3 separate regions of the Homo sapiens genome follow, and all the other regions are linked to region 1. Evidence: promoter capture Hi-C in 16 types of primary human blood cells and fetal thymus (Javierre and others, 2016). All regions are on one chromosome and are shown on one strand. The core of a region is centred on a gene start or on the middle of the fragment in contact, and the rest is flanking DNA. Distances in the headings are between cores, read along the strand shown.

Evidence for each region. Contacts are between HindIII fragments. The CHiCAGO score rates a contact against its expected background, and 5 or more counts as called.
Region 2: the fragment with the promoter of PHF2 here is called in contact with the fragment with the promoter of IPPK in region 1 in 2 of 17 cell types (naive CD8 T cells and total CD8 T cells); the score reaches 7.1 in naive CD8 T cells.
Region 3: a contact is called between a fragment that was not itself captured here and the fragment with the promoter of IPPK in region 1, in 2 of 17 cell types (total B cells and naive CD8 T cells). The highest score is 5.9, in total B cells.

What each region holds. Positions count from the first base shown.
Region 1 is chr9:92,668,134-92,672,459 of GRCh38, reverse strand. IPPK (inositol-pentakisphosphate 2-kinase) reads left to right here and starts at 2,329. Exons shown (of 13, transcript NM_022755.6): 1 at 2,329-2,552. The coding sequence starts at 2,472. LOC107987095 (a long non-coding RNA gene) reads right to left here and starts at 2,098. Exons shown (of 2, transcript XR_001746837.2): 1 at 1,787-2,098. RefSeq lists enhancers at 332-501, 759-1,053, 1,808-1,857, 1,868-2,317, 3,058-3,227 and a silencer at 2,358-2,537. The HindIII fragment of the contact is 1,551 bases long and covers 2,154-3,704 here.
Region 2 is chr9:93,574,488-93,578,813 of GRCh38, reverse strand. PHF2 (PHD finger protein 2) reads right to left here and starts at 2,230. Exons shown (of 22, transcript NM_005392.4): 1 at 1,943-2,230. The coding sequence starts at 2,040. RefSeq lists enhancers at 441-590, 2,772-3,051, 2,733-3,327, 3,328-3,923 and silencers at 1,452-1,611, 2,202-2,501, 2,612-2,671. The HindIII fragment of the contact is 11,549 bases long and covers 1-4,326 here.
Region 3 is chr9:93,461,659-93,465,984 of GRCh38, reverse strand. The region is part of intron 1 of FAM120A (family with sequence similarity 120 member A); the gene reads right to left. Among named protein-coding and RNA genes, the nearest start is that of FAM120AOS, 10 kb to the right of the region's middle. The HindIII fragment of the contact is 178 bases long and covers 2,419-2,596 here.

The sequences.
Region 1 (4,326 bases), core at 1,080-3,579:
ATGGGGGAAAAAATCAAGATACAGAACATTTCTAGCACCTTAGAGGTTTCAAGGAAATATTTTAATGCTTAATATATTATTTAATCTCACCCCAACTCTCCTTTTTGCAGGGTGCTGAGGAACTCAACTGCAGTCATGTTTAAGCTTCCCTGGCCTTGTGGGGGCGTGGGAAGGACTGAATTTTGTGAGCCCTAAGGTCCTCTCTCTCTGTTGGGAGCTACTTACCTCCAGGAGTGGCTGTTTCTGCCCCCATTTCTCAACCATCCCTGTGGAGGGTCCTGAGCCACCTCCCACCCAGCTTCCCCACCACCCCCCCCCCACCGCCTCCTTTTTTCTCTTTCAGACGGAGTCTTGCTCTGTTGCCCAGGCTGGAATGCAGTGGCACGATCTGGGCTCACTGCAACCTCTACCTCCCGGGTTCAAGTAATTCTCCTGCCTCAGCCTCCCGAGTAGCTGGGATTGCAGGCGTGCACCACACACCCAGCTAATTTTTGTATTTTTAGTAGAGATGGGGTTTCACCATATTGGCCAGGCTGGTCTCAAACTCCTGACCTCATGATCCACCGCCTTGGCCTCCCAAAGTGCTGGGATTACAGGCGTGAGCCACCACACCCAGCCTCCCCCACTTTTTTTTTTTGAGACAGAATCTTGCTTTGTCACCCAGGCTAGAGTGCAGTGGCTTGATCACGGCTCACTGCAGCCTCAACCTCCCGGGCACAAGCGATCCTCCCGCCTCAGCCCCTCAGCCCTACAAGTAGCTGGGGCTACAGGCACAGATACCACACCCTGCTAATTTTTTGTAGAGACAGGGTTTCACCATGTTGCCAGGCTGGTTTGGAATTCCTAAGCTCAAGCGATCCGCCCACCTCGGCCTCCCAGAATGCTGGGATTACAGGCATGAGTCACCATGCCCTGCCCCAGCCTCCCTTTTGAGGCCTAAAATGGAGGAAAGAGATGCTCAAAGCCTTCAGCTCATTTTCCTGAGTCACTGGCCTGATTTCACTACAATTCCCAAGGCCTGGCAAGGTGCCCAGCCGTTCTCAAAGTTGGGTCTGCAGGTCCTCTCTTTGTGAACTACATAACTGCAGATGTTCTTCACAATGTGTATGTCAACCAATGCAATATATTGCAGCAGACCGAATGCCGAAGCACATGTGAGAACCTATTAGGTCAGATTTTAAAAAGATTTGCAAAAGTGTAAAACAATACCACTCCTTTATTTTGGTGGTGGGCGTGGAATGTAATGTTTACTTTTTTTTTTTTTTTTTTTTTTGAGATGGAGTCTCACTCTGTCGTCCACGCTGGAGTGCAATGGCGCGATCTTGGCTTACCGCAACCTCCGCCTCCTGGGTTCAAATGATTCTCTTGCCTCAGCCTCCGGAGTAGCTGGGATTACAGGCCTGCGCCACCATACCTGGCTCATTTTTGTATTTTTAGTAGAGACAGGGTTTCACCATGTTGGCCAGGCTGGTCTCAAACTCCTGACCTCAGGTGATACGCCCGCCTCAGCCTCCCAAAGTGCTGGGATTACAGGCGTGAGCTACCGCGCCCGGCTGTTTACTTTTAAACGAAACAACAAAAAACTTTAAAGCATTTTAACTTAGAATGTGGTAACATCGATAGCTGTAACCCACATTAGCAAAAGCTTGGGGCCCTCATTTTTATGAGTATAAAGTGGTCCTGAGACTACGAGTTTGGGAAATGCGGTAGCTCTACGAGGCGGTGCCATTCTTGCCGCCGCATCAGTGAATTTAGGAGAAGGAAGGTCGTTAGCCCTCTGCCTCACCGCCAAGCAGGAGCCTTGCGCTCCAACTGCGTCCCTCGAAGTCTTCAGGCAAAAGCGGGACTGGGGAGTCCAGTCCTGTGGCCCAGCCACATTTCCTCGCGTAGAACGTTGGACAATGTTTTCTACCTCACAGGACCATCCAAATGACTGCGTTAGGTATTCCCATGAAATGTACGATGAGTACACCCTATTCTACAGAAGCAAAAGCTGAGGCTCAGAGACGCCAAGAGGTTTGCTGGGGTCTCGCGACTAAGCGGTCCCAACACCCAGACACCCTGGCTACCCGGGGACTGCCGGTCACTACCGGGCGCCGAAAAGCCGCCGGCTCCTTCCGCCAGCTACACATCCGGCGCCGAGGCCGGAAGCTTCTCTTCCGGCTCCCAAGACCGCGTTCCGGAAATGAGTCGCTCTACCAGTACCTAAGATGGCCGCCGGCCCATCCACCGTCGCGATCGGTGTGAGGAAAGTGTCACGAACCCGGAATTGCCCGACTCCGTCATGGCAGGCGCCGGGGGCGTGGCTTCCGGCGGCCACAGCTTGCTAGTCGCCGCGGCGGGGTCGAGCGGGGGCGGCAGCTGACAGGCGCTCCTCCCCCGACCGCAGCGGCTGGTTCCCAGCGAGGCGGGCGGCCCCCAGCTCGCGTCCCCGAGTCCTAGCCCGCGAGGCGCCAGGGCTGCGCCTGGGCATGGAAGAGGGGAAGATGGACGAGAATGAATGGGGGTACCACGGAGAGGGCAATAAGAGCCTGGTGGTGGCCCACGCGCAGGTGAGCGGTGGACGTGCGGCGCAGGTCCGGTACCTCACTCCGACGGCCGGTATCACCCCGCCCCCATTATCCGTTTCCTCAACAGGGTCGGTTCCACGTCCCCCCAGTACCTTCCTCCTCCCCGGCCGGTCTCCGGAATTCCCCCACCCTCCAGCATCCCCCCCTACCGCTTGGGTTCCTCATCACCCCAGTATCCCCTCTCTACTGGGTCAGTCTCCCATTGCCCCAGATCCTTCTCCTGGCCGGTCTGTCGTCCCCTCAGTATTCCCGTTCCCCGTCAGAGTCAGTTCCACATCCCCCTCCCCGCCCCGTCGGTGCCGCGCTCAGCCTCACGCGGTGCCGCCTCCCGCCTGGATGCCCGCCGGACTGCCAGGCCGCAGTGGGGTGGAGGCTTGGTTGGGACGGAGGGCCCGGCCAGCACTGGAGGAAGAAGCAGAGTGCCCACAGTGCTGTTACTCTCAGCACCAAAAGAGTTCAGCCTCGTGAGACTACGGAATTGCTGTGCTGTTAATAGTAAGGGGATGTTGTCCACAGGTCCTCTTCTCAACCTTTTAGAATTTGAAGGCTTTCACCTGAATTCAACGAGGGTGAAAGTTTTAGAAACTGCAGTAAGATCTCGCAAAGGTGAATCCCAAGAGTGAAGCGTGTGGGTTTCTGTGAGGGCCCAGATCTCTCTGACCTTTTGCTGTCTGGTACAACCACGCAGGAATGTGGCCGGCTGGAACGGGGGAGGGGGGTGAGGGAGGCGAGGATAGGTGTCATGTAGGGAGGAGTTAGAGCATGGGTGTTAAAGGCACAGGAATCTCAGTGTCTACATTTGTGAAGTGGAACTAGTAGTAGAATTCACTTTGTGGGATTGTTGCAAAGACCAGTTACGCAGGAACCCATCAAGTTATGCTTAGCAAGTGATAATTGTCATCCCTTGGACAGATAAATAAAGTGAAAATCAGAGAGGTTAAGGGCATTGCCCGAGTCGAACAGCTTGTCAGGGATGATGTAGGCAGTGGAGTCCTGCCTTGCTTCTGTTGTTCCTATGCTGGGTGCATTGGTCAGCTGTAGTGTAAGCTGCAAACACCCAGGTAGCCCCTAGGTTGTGCCTTTGGATTTTGTTGCTCATTAGCACAGGGAACTAAAGAACAGAGACTACAAGCTTTGCTCAAGATCTTTAGGTGAATTAATAATGGACCAGGCTAACCTAAAGCTGTCCTTCTCTTGTGTAGTCCACTATTGGCAAAGTGAGGGATGTTTCTGCGTGAGTCCTTTTGTTGTTGGGTTACTGTGCTGATCCCCTGAATCCTTTCCCAAAACAAATACTAATCTTCCAATTCCTTGGTAAGATTAGATGTATCTCTGCATTTTAGGTAAACCTAAGACTTTTCTTTAGTGAGGGCTGATACATTAAATTTCAAAAGTAGTGGCAGATGAAGCAGCAAGTTTCAGGCTTGGAGCAAAAGGACACCCATGTTGAAAGAGCAGAGGCTTTGACGCAGTTGCCTCTGGCACTTGGATCTCTCTGCACGTTCCAGACAAGTATGTGTCCACCCCCTTCCCTGAGTAGGCATCTCCAGGGCAGCCTGGCCCTACCCTGTTGCACAGCTCTGATTGTAATGATTGTTTATTTTTATTTATTTATTTATTTAGAAACGGGGTCTCACTCTGTTGCCCAGGCTGGAGTGCAGTGGCGCGATCTCGGCTCACTGCAACCTCCGCCTCCCAGGTTCAAGCGATTTTCCTGCCTCAGCCTCCCGAGTAGCTGGGATCACAGGCATGCGCT
Region 2 (4,326 bases), core at 981-3,480, 910 kb before region 1:
AGACATCCCCCTTTTGGGGATTTTTTGCATGGGCCAATACAGCAAATGACACCAACCAGCTCTCAGGCCAGCTCTCAGCCCCTGTCGCCTGCCTGCCCCTCATTCCTGGAGTTTTTCCCTTGGCCTCGAAGTCTAGTTCAGAACTAGCCTTCCCTTCCCAGAGGGTCCCCTAAGCAGCGAGACAAAGGTCTTCTCGCGTTCTCTCACTCTCCCTACTCTGGGCCCCGAGTGTGGGCAGCAGCCAGGAGCTGACACAGGTGCCCAGAAGGTTCTGTAGCAGAGTGACTGCGCTCGCCAGGTCAGGGCTCCGGTGGAGATGGGGGAGAAGGCAGAGGCCCCACCACTTTCAGGGCTTTTCAGGGCCAGCAGCTCAGCATCCCTGGATATGAGGAGCCTTAGAGGCTCTCACTCACTTTGGCCCGGCCATGAACTTCTCAACGGCTGCCAGTTGAGGGTGTGCATGTCAGCCCTGTTCTGGGCAGAGCCCGGTGTTCACACTCAGTCTCCCTTGCTCTAAGGGGCTTCCACAGCCCTGGGCATACCCAGGAAGGCAGCCCAGATTTCCGTGGGCATCCCCACCCCACAGAGTCCCAGGCCCTTCTAACAGCAGGGAGGTAGGACTCAGGACTGGGGCTGACAGACATAGCAGGCCCTGTCACATCCCAGCCACCCAGGTCCCCACATGTAAACTGGCAGGACTGGACTTGGGGCCACAGCCCACTCTTAAGCACCACTGACCAGTCTTGAAGACCCAGTCTTAGAACCTGCAGGAGGATCTCCTCTCTGGAAGGAGAATCCCGGACCACCCACCACCACACACCCCTCTCTTTCCCCCGGCTGCTTGCTGCCGGTGGTTTGGGACTGGAGCCCCAGAGGGCATACAGCCCTGGCCAGCCCCGGGTCCAAACACATCCCACAGGCAAAGTCAGATGCAAGAGAACCTGTTGGAGCAGTTTGGGCAACACTGTCACCTCCTCTTCCTCCTCCTCCATTTACTTCTTGGTGGGAAGGGACCTGCCCTAGGCATGGGGCCAGGTCATGGCCATCGGCAAGGGCCAAGAGGGCGGGGGTTTTCAGTGTCTCCAAGCGTTACCTCCTTCCCCCCTCCCCATCTTCCTTAGGGAGCATAAGATCATGTCAAAACCGGCGTTCCTGCCGGGAACGGAGAGGAGAGAAACGGGGAAAACTGAAGGCCAGGGAGGAGGTGGCAAAGCCACAACAAACCCCCCTTACCCAACTCACAGACACTATTCTGTCACCGCACTCCTGCCCGCGGACCTGCAGGCCTGCCGGGTCTAGCTGCTCCGCGGGGGTCCGGGAGGGGTCCTGCCCTCGGGGACAAGGTCCAAGGGAGCTCGCCGGCCACGGCGGAGGGTGGGCGCGCCGGCTGCCACCTCGCCGGAGCCCCCACGGACTCCCCAGCCCTGCCGGAGTCGGAGCCCGCCACTCGCGCCTCTCCCGGGACCCGCGCCGGGCTGCGCGCCCGCTTCTCCCGGCCCGGCCAACCCCGAGCCCGCGCGGGGAAAGTTCCTGCAACTTCGCAGGGGGGAGGCGGCGGGGGCTCCGGGCCTCGGCCTCCCTCCGGATGCCCGGCCTCTGCGGCCGCCGCGACCCAGCTGACAGGCGGCCCGGCCCGGGCCTGGAGCCCCAACTTCCCCGCGCCCCGAGCCCCGAGCCCACCTCCCGGCCCGCGGGCCTCGCTTTGTGCGCGGCGGCCAGGGGCGCCCAGCGCGGGCCCCGTGCTTGGCGCCCCCGCCCTGGGCACAAAAGGGCGCGCGGCCCGGCACGGCCCAGCCCCGACCGGGGCGCCCGGAATGCGGCGGCGGCGGCGGCGGCCCGTCCCCGAGCCGGGCCTGCGGGCGCGCAGCCGGGGGCGCGGGGCTCGGTCGGGCAAGGTGGCCGGGCCGGGCCGGGCCGAGCCGAGCAGCCGCCGCGCGCTCACCTGCCGTGGAACCAGTCCTTGCAGGCGTCGCACTCGATCATGAAGCGGGTAACGTCGTAGGGGAGCCGGCAGACGCAGTACACGGGCACCGTCGCCATGTTGCCGCGCCGCGCCGCCGCTCGGCCCCGCCGCTGCGCTGCCCGGGTCGGTCCGGGCCGGGCCGGGGGCCGGGCCGCGCGGGGGCGGCGGGGGCGGCGGGGCGCAGGCGGCGCCGCGGCCGGGAGGGGACGGGGACGGGGGCGCACGACAGCCCCCGCGCGCGCTCCCGGCCAGGCGCGTCCACACAATGCCGGGCGCGCTGGCTGGAGGGGCCGCGCCGGGAGCCGCCCGCCGGCCCGCGGGGCTCAGGGCGCTAGTGTGCGCGGGGGACGGGCCGCGCGCGGGACACAAAAGGGAATGGACGCGCGGGGGCGGCGGGCGGGGAGCCGCGGCCCCACCGAAGGGACCCCCGGCCGCCGAGCGGCCTCTACGTCAGCGCCCCGGGTGGCGCCGCCTCCGCCCGCCGGCCTGGGCCGCCGCTCCCGCCGCCGGGAAGGCGGGCTGGGGAACCCTGCGGGGGAGAAGGTGGGTTGGGGGACCCTGCCGGGGGAGAAGACGGCCGGGGGGACCCTGCCGGGGGAGAAGGCGGGTGGGGGGATCTCGAAGGTGGAAGATAGGCCGAGAAGGGCCCCCAAGGCTGAAGGTAGACCCAGGGGTCCGCGGGCGCGAAGGTGAGCTGGGGGAGCCTTGAGACTGAAAGTGGGGTGGGACCCCGGGGAGAAGGTGGGCGGGACCCCGAGGATAAGATAAGTTGGGGGAACCCGGGCAAGGCAGAAGGAGAGACGCGGGGTGCGGGAGTGGAGCCCGCAGGAGAGCCTTCCTAGTCTAGAAGGCCGACAAGCAAATACTTGGCCCTAACTTTCTTCTGACCCCCACCACGGTGGGGGTGTTCCTCCTCCTCGGCCGCGCTGCCTCCCTCCGTTCCCCACTGAGTTTCTGGTTGGGACACCACTTCCTCTTTCCCCTCATTTTCGGCTGGGGACTGCCGCCTCCCTCGCAGGATCCCGCGGACTTCCCTGATGCTCAGCCCCAGAGGAAGAGGACAGAAGCCCGGGCCGGGAGTGCGCTGGCACGGGCTGGTCAGCTCTGTTCCCTGGCATTTGAGCCCCCCAGGCCCGTGACCTAAGGGGCCGGGCTGGTCAGCTCTGTCAAGAGAGAGCTCCCTGGCATTTGAGCCCCCCAGGCCCGTGACCTAAGGGGCGAGGAGTATGGGAACCCTGGCCCCCGTGTCCAGGGAACTGAGCCCCCACGGTGGGGAGGAGAAGCGGAGGTGCGCTCTGAGGGGTCACTTGCACGCGTTCTAGAGGAGGACTTCCCTGCCTCGCCAGCGCTGCATCCTTGGGGCATCCGCGCTGGGCAGGGGCCACATCCCTGCCCGCCCTTCCTCCCTCACCCTCTTTCTCTCCCCATCCTCCCTCAGCAAAATCCGCATCGTGCTGGGAAATGTGGGCCACCCCTGCTCGGAATTCCAGAATCTCCGGACAGGAAACCTGGCTCAGTCTCCTAGCAGCATCCATGACAAGGCTCCTTAGCCCCTCAGCCCCTCACCATCACCGCCCACCTGCAGCTGCCAAGGGGCCGTTTGCTCCACCGCAGGCGGCTCAATTAAGGTCCTTCCTCCTACTGAGCCAAAATCTACCCTCAGAGTCAGCCACCCACCCCCAACAAGTGACCCCGTGGATACAGACTCAGGGCAGTGCCCAAAGCACTGGGCACTGGGGAAGGGGGCGGGGGGAGAAGTAGCTGGCCATAGAGGGAGAGGAAAGAGCAGGAGACCCCCAGCTCCCACACCTCTGGACTGGCCAGGATGGCCTGCAATAGGCCTTCCTACCTGAATTCCGGTTGTCACTGGTTCCCTTCCTCCTGGGTGAAAGCCTGGAATTTTTTTTTTTTTTTTTTTTTTACATACTGAAGTTCTGGGAAAGAAGTAACTCTTAAGCCATTGTCTACTATTATGTAGATAGAATGCTCAGCCTGAAGGTTGAGAGCCCAAAAGGCGGGTTTCAGGTGAGTGGTGCCCACTTCCTTGATAGATACACTCTCCCTCACCCTTACAGCAGTACTAAAGTAGTCAGGTGAGCAGTGCCCAAATGAAGCTGGAAACTTCTAGAGGCTGCTGTGATGCAGGGGAGGCTGCCCTGATGTGGGCATCCCCCCATCCCTTAACACTCCTATTAGCCTGTTTACAAACAGTGACAGTAGTTAGCCAACATTTAGCAAATGCTTTTACCAGGACAGTGCCCTGGGCTCAGTTCTTCACGAGGTTTTACCAGTACCTAACCAGATGTTTGTAAGCGCTTAGCAAATTCCTGGGTCATGATGGCAATTACTACATACTCAGGACT
Region 3 (4,326 bases), core at 1,258-3,757, 790 kb before region 1:
TATTCTTTTCCCAAACACACAGCCATAATTTAATATAGAGAAAGCATCAGACAAACCCAAATCGGGGACATTCTATAAAACACCTGATTAGTACTCCTCAGAAGTGTCAAGATCACCAAAGACAAACAGAAAAGCTGCCCCAGAAGACAGGGGATGGAGGACACTAGAGGTCCTGACCAGGGTCCCGGAACAGAAAAGGACACTGGTGGGAAACAGATGAAATCCAAATGAAGTCCATAATGAAGTTCACAGTAGTCTACCAAGGGTATTTTCTTGGTTTAGATCACTGTGCCAGCTAGCAGGAAGTGAACATTCCCTGGAAGCTGAGTGAGGGATATTTGGGAAGTCTGTACTATCTTTGTAAATTTTCTATAAAATTATTCCAAATAAGTTTATTTTTCTAAAAAAAAAGAGTCAATATTCTAGAAGACAATACATCAGCTGAAAGACTATTTCAAACCACTTTATTAGATGAACAAAGTATAACAGGCACGTGAAAAATAAATCCTGGCCTAAAGGCAAGTTTCAAAAAGCCTATTATATAAAAACAGAAATCTTCCCACAGGTAGTCCAGTTGAAAGAAACAAGAAAACCTACAAAGTATGGAATTTGGTTACCAATTAATTTATGAGTGAATAAATGCAGTCAAACTACTAAGAATATTCGTAAGAGGCCCAATAAACAATTCCTTAAGATTTAAGTCAAGGAAAGCCTGGTTAAAAATCTGATCAAGGATATGAGCAGGGGTAAAAAGACAATACAATGCAAGGTTTGGGTGGGAATGGAAAAAAGATTCTGGGTTGCATCAAAATAACTTACAAGGCAGTTATTTAATTAAGAATAAACGTTAAGTACTGGGCTGAAGCTTTGGTCTGACAGACTTGAGCTCCCCTGCTGTTCATCTGGTCTTCTGAAGCTCCTTCCTGTTTTCCCTTCTCCTATACTAAGCTACTCTCTCACTCTTATTTATCTGCTTCTTCTCTTCCCTGGCCTTCCAATGCCTGGCTTGGACTGGGCATAATACAATGAAATGTGTACTTCTAGTTCTTAATGTTAATTTCAGAAGTGGGTTAAAACTATTAAACGCAATGTTCAGATTATTTGATTTTGAACCCCCTCGAAGAACAAAATGACGTAAAAAATTAAGCCCTGAAAACACTTACTTACAGGTAGCCCTTCAAAGGGGGTAAAGTCATCCACCAGAGGTAAATCAGACTTCGAACTATGAGCTGCCTCCTTGCTGAAAGTCCCAGGCTAGTAGCCACTGAAAGTATCTGCCATTTTAAAAGCACCAGGCCTTGATTAATTTTTGTCATGGCTACCATTTCCACTCTATCAAAATGCAGGCTTCAAGATCAAGGAAGTGAAACTCTAAAACTCCTTCTGTAAACAACCCCGAGGAGCATTAGGCTTCAGCTCTTGTGAAGTGATGAGGGGGCTAGTGTCCAATACAACACTCTAACCTGGGGCAGCCAGGATGGGAATCACAACACTTCTCAGCTTCTTCCTCCCTGTCTACCCCCTCCCCAAGAAATATGGTAGGTGTCATTAGTGTTGACAAGTTTAAGAAGTGGCAAAAGGGCCCGTTTCTGGTCTCAAGAAAGTACTCTGTACTTCGATTTACAATGATAACTTTATGCCACTATAAATTTACCAAATATACCTAGGTAAATCTTTTTATCTCAGTAGTTTTACATTTCATCATTAAAAAGGCAGATATATCAAAACTCAGGACTTTTACAAAGAATAATGACTTAAAAACTCCCAAACTTACTTGGCAAGTATAATTGTTTATTAATTCTGAAACACAGCTACAGGAAGACCCCATAAGAAGAAAAACTTGACACTGTTACTTACTCCTAGTTTCCAGTGAAAAAACACTCTACAATGAGGTTTGTGTCTCTGGCACCAGGTAGGTGAACTCCACTGCCTACTTTAATACTTTCTGTACTTCCATTTCCTCATCTGTAAGAATAATAGTATTCCTCTATCTCATAGGGTAGCTGCGATGATTAAATATACTACATGTAAACAGCTCAGAAGCATTCACAAATAATAAGCGCTTGACAAATGTCAGTTACTATGTACTTTTAAGGAAGCTATGTAAAAAGGTTTCTTTATACTTTTCACACAGGACCTGAAACACTATGGGTTCTCATACATACATTTTCTGACACTAGGAAAACATACCGTTAATGTGGTTTTTCTTCAGAATAATTTTACACCAGTTCAGGGAACAATGTGACACATCCTCCAGCCAGCTAGCTGATTTAGAAGATATAAAACAACCTGACATAAGAGCGTATAGGTCCACCTAAATTATTTTGTTTTAAAAAACAACTACCAAAAAGGCAGTCTTCAGCCTCTTCCCAATGGGCAGTCAATAGGTATGAAATGGGAAAAACTAACACTGAAGCTTCTGTTCCCTACTCTAGTCCAACTGAAGAATAAGAACATTAAAAAAAGTCAACTCCAATTTGGTGGCAGATTTTTGTTGCTGTTTAAAGGGCAATTTAAATGTTATGACACATAGCAGCAATGCCTCTAAAAAGAAATCTCTCTCTTCAGGTAAGCTGAAATCATAGCTGAATAAGCTTATCTTATATATCTCATTTAGAATAAATGAGAATTGGGTACAGTGATCTTAAAAACAAGGAAAAACATTTCTTAAAATAAGGGAGTGGGACATGAAAAGATGCTCAACTTCACTCATTATTACAGAAATATAAATCAAAACCACAATGAGACACTGAATACCTCACACCCATTAGGATGGCTACTATTTTTTTAAAAAAAAGAAAATAACAAATGTCAACAAGAATATATGGAGAAAAACAGATTCCTTGTGCATTGCTGGTGGGAATGTAAAACAGCGTGGCCTCTTGGGAAATCGTATGGTGATTCCTCAAAAAACTGAACGCAGAACTACCCTAAGATACAGCAATTACACTTCCAGGTTGAAAAAATGGGTCCGAAGAGATGTCGGTACATTCATGTTCACAGCAGCACCATTTACAATGACAAAAAGGATGAAACCCAAGTGTCCACCCACTGATGAATGGATAAACAAAATGTGGTCTATCCAATACAACAGAATGTTATTGAGCCTTAAGGAGGAAATTCTGACACGTTACAACATGTATGAACCTTGAAGACATTGTGTTAAATGCAATAAACCAGACACAAAATTACATATACTATACGATCTCATTATATGAGGCTCATAGGGTAGACAACTTCAGAGACAGAGAGGAGAATGGTGGTTACCAGGAGCTGGGGCATGGAAGAAATGGGGAATTACAGTTTAGTGGGTACACAGTTCCAGTTTGGGATGAGGAAAAAATTCTGGGAATGGATGGTGGTGATGGTTATACAACAATGTGAATATACTTAATGCCACCGGGGACAGGCGTGGTGGCTCACACCTATAATCTCAGTACTTTGGGAGGCCAAGGGTGGTGGGTCACTTGAGGTCAGGAGTTCAAGACCAGCCTGGCCAAGATGGTGAAACCCTGTCTCTACTAAAAATACAAAAATTAGCTGGGTGTGGTGGCAGGCGCACGCCTGTAATCCCAGCTACTCAGGAGGCTGAGGCAGAACTGCTTGCACCCGGGAGGCAGAGGTTGCAGTGGGCTGAGATCACGCTACTGCGCTACAGCCTTGGTGACAGAGCGAGACTCCATCTCAAAAAAATATATATACTTAATGCCACTGAACTGTACATTTAAAAATGGTTAAATTGGTAAATTTTATGTTAGGTGTATTTTACCACAATTTTAAGAAACAATAATAATAAAAAGAAGGGTATCTCCCTGTCTTCTCAGAAGGCCTAGGTGCTTTGGCTCCAAAATTAACTTCCTACTTGTAAAAAGGCAGAGTTTTCCTTTTCCTTTGATTAACGACAATTAGGATGTATGTAATAGTTTGTATCTGCCAGGCTGTATCAAAGGGTGACACTTCTTTTTGGCTTTCGCAATCTCTTTAGCACACACTGCTTGTGATGTGATCACAGTCTGGTTCAATGGTTATTCAATAATACAGGTTAGGTGTCCTTTACTGAAACACTTAAGACAAGAAGTGTTTTGGATTTCAGGCTTTTTCAAGTTTTGGAATATTTGTTATTATGCTTACCAGTTGAACATTCTAAATTCAAAAATCAAAAATCCAAAATGCTCCAGTGAGCATTTCCTTTGTGCATCATGCTGGTGCTCAAAAAGTTTTGAATTTTGGAGCATTTCAGATTTGGGATGTTCGAATTATAAAACTGCTTGATTTTTCCCTCTAAAAATATTAATAATAATAAAGGAGTGATGTCATAAAAGAAAT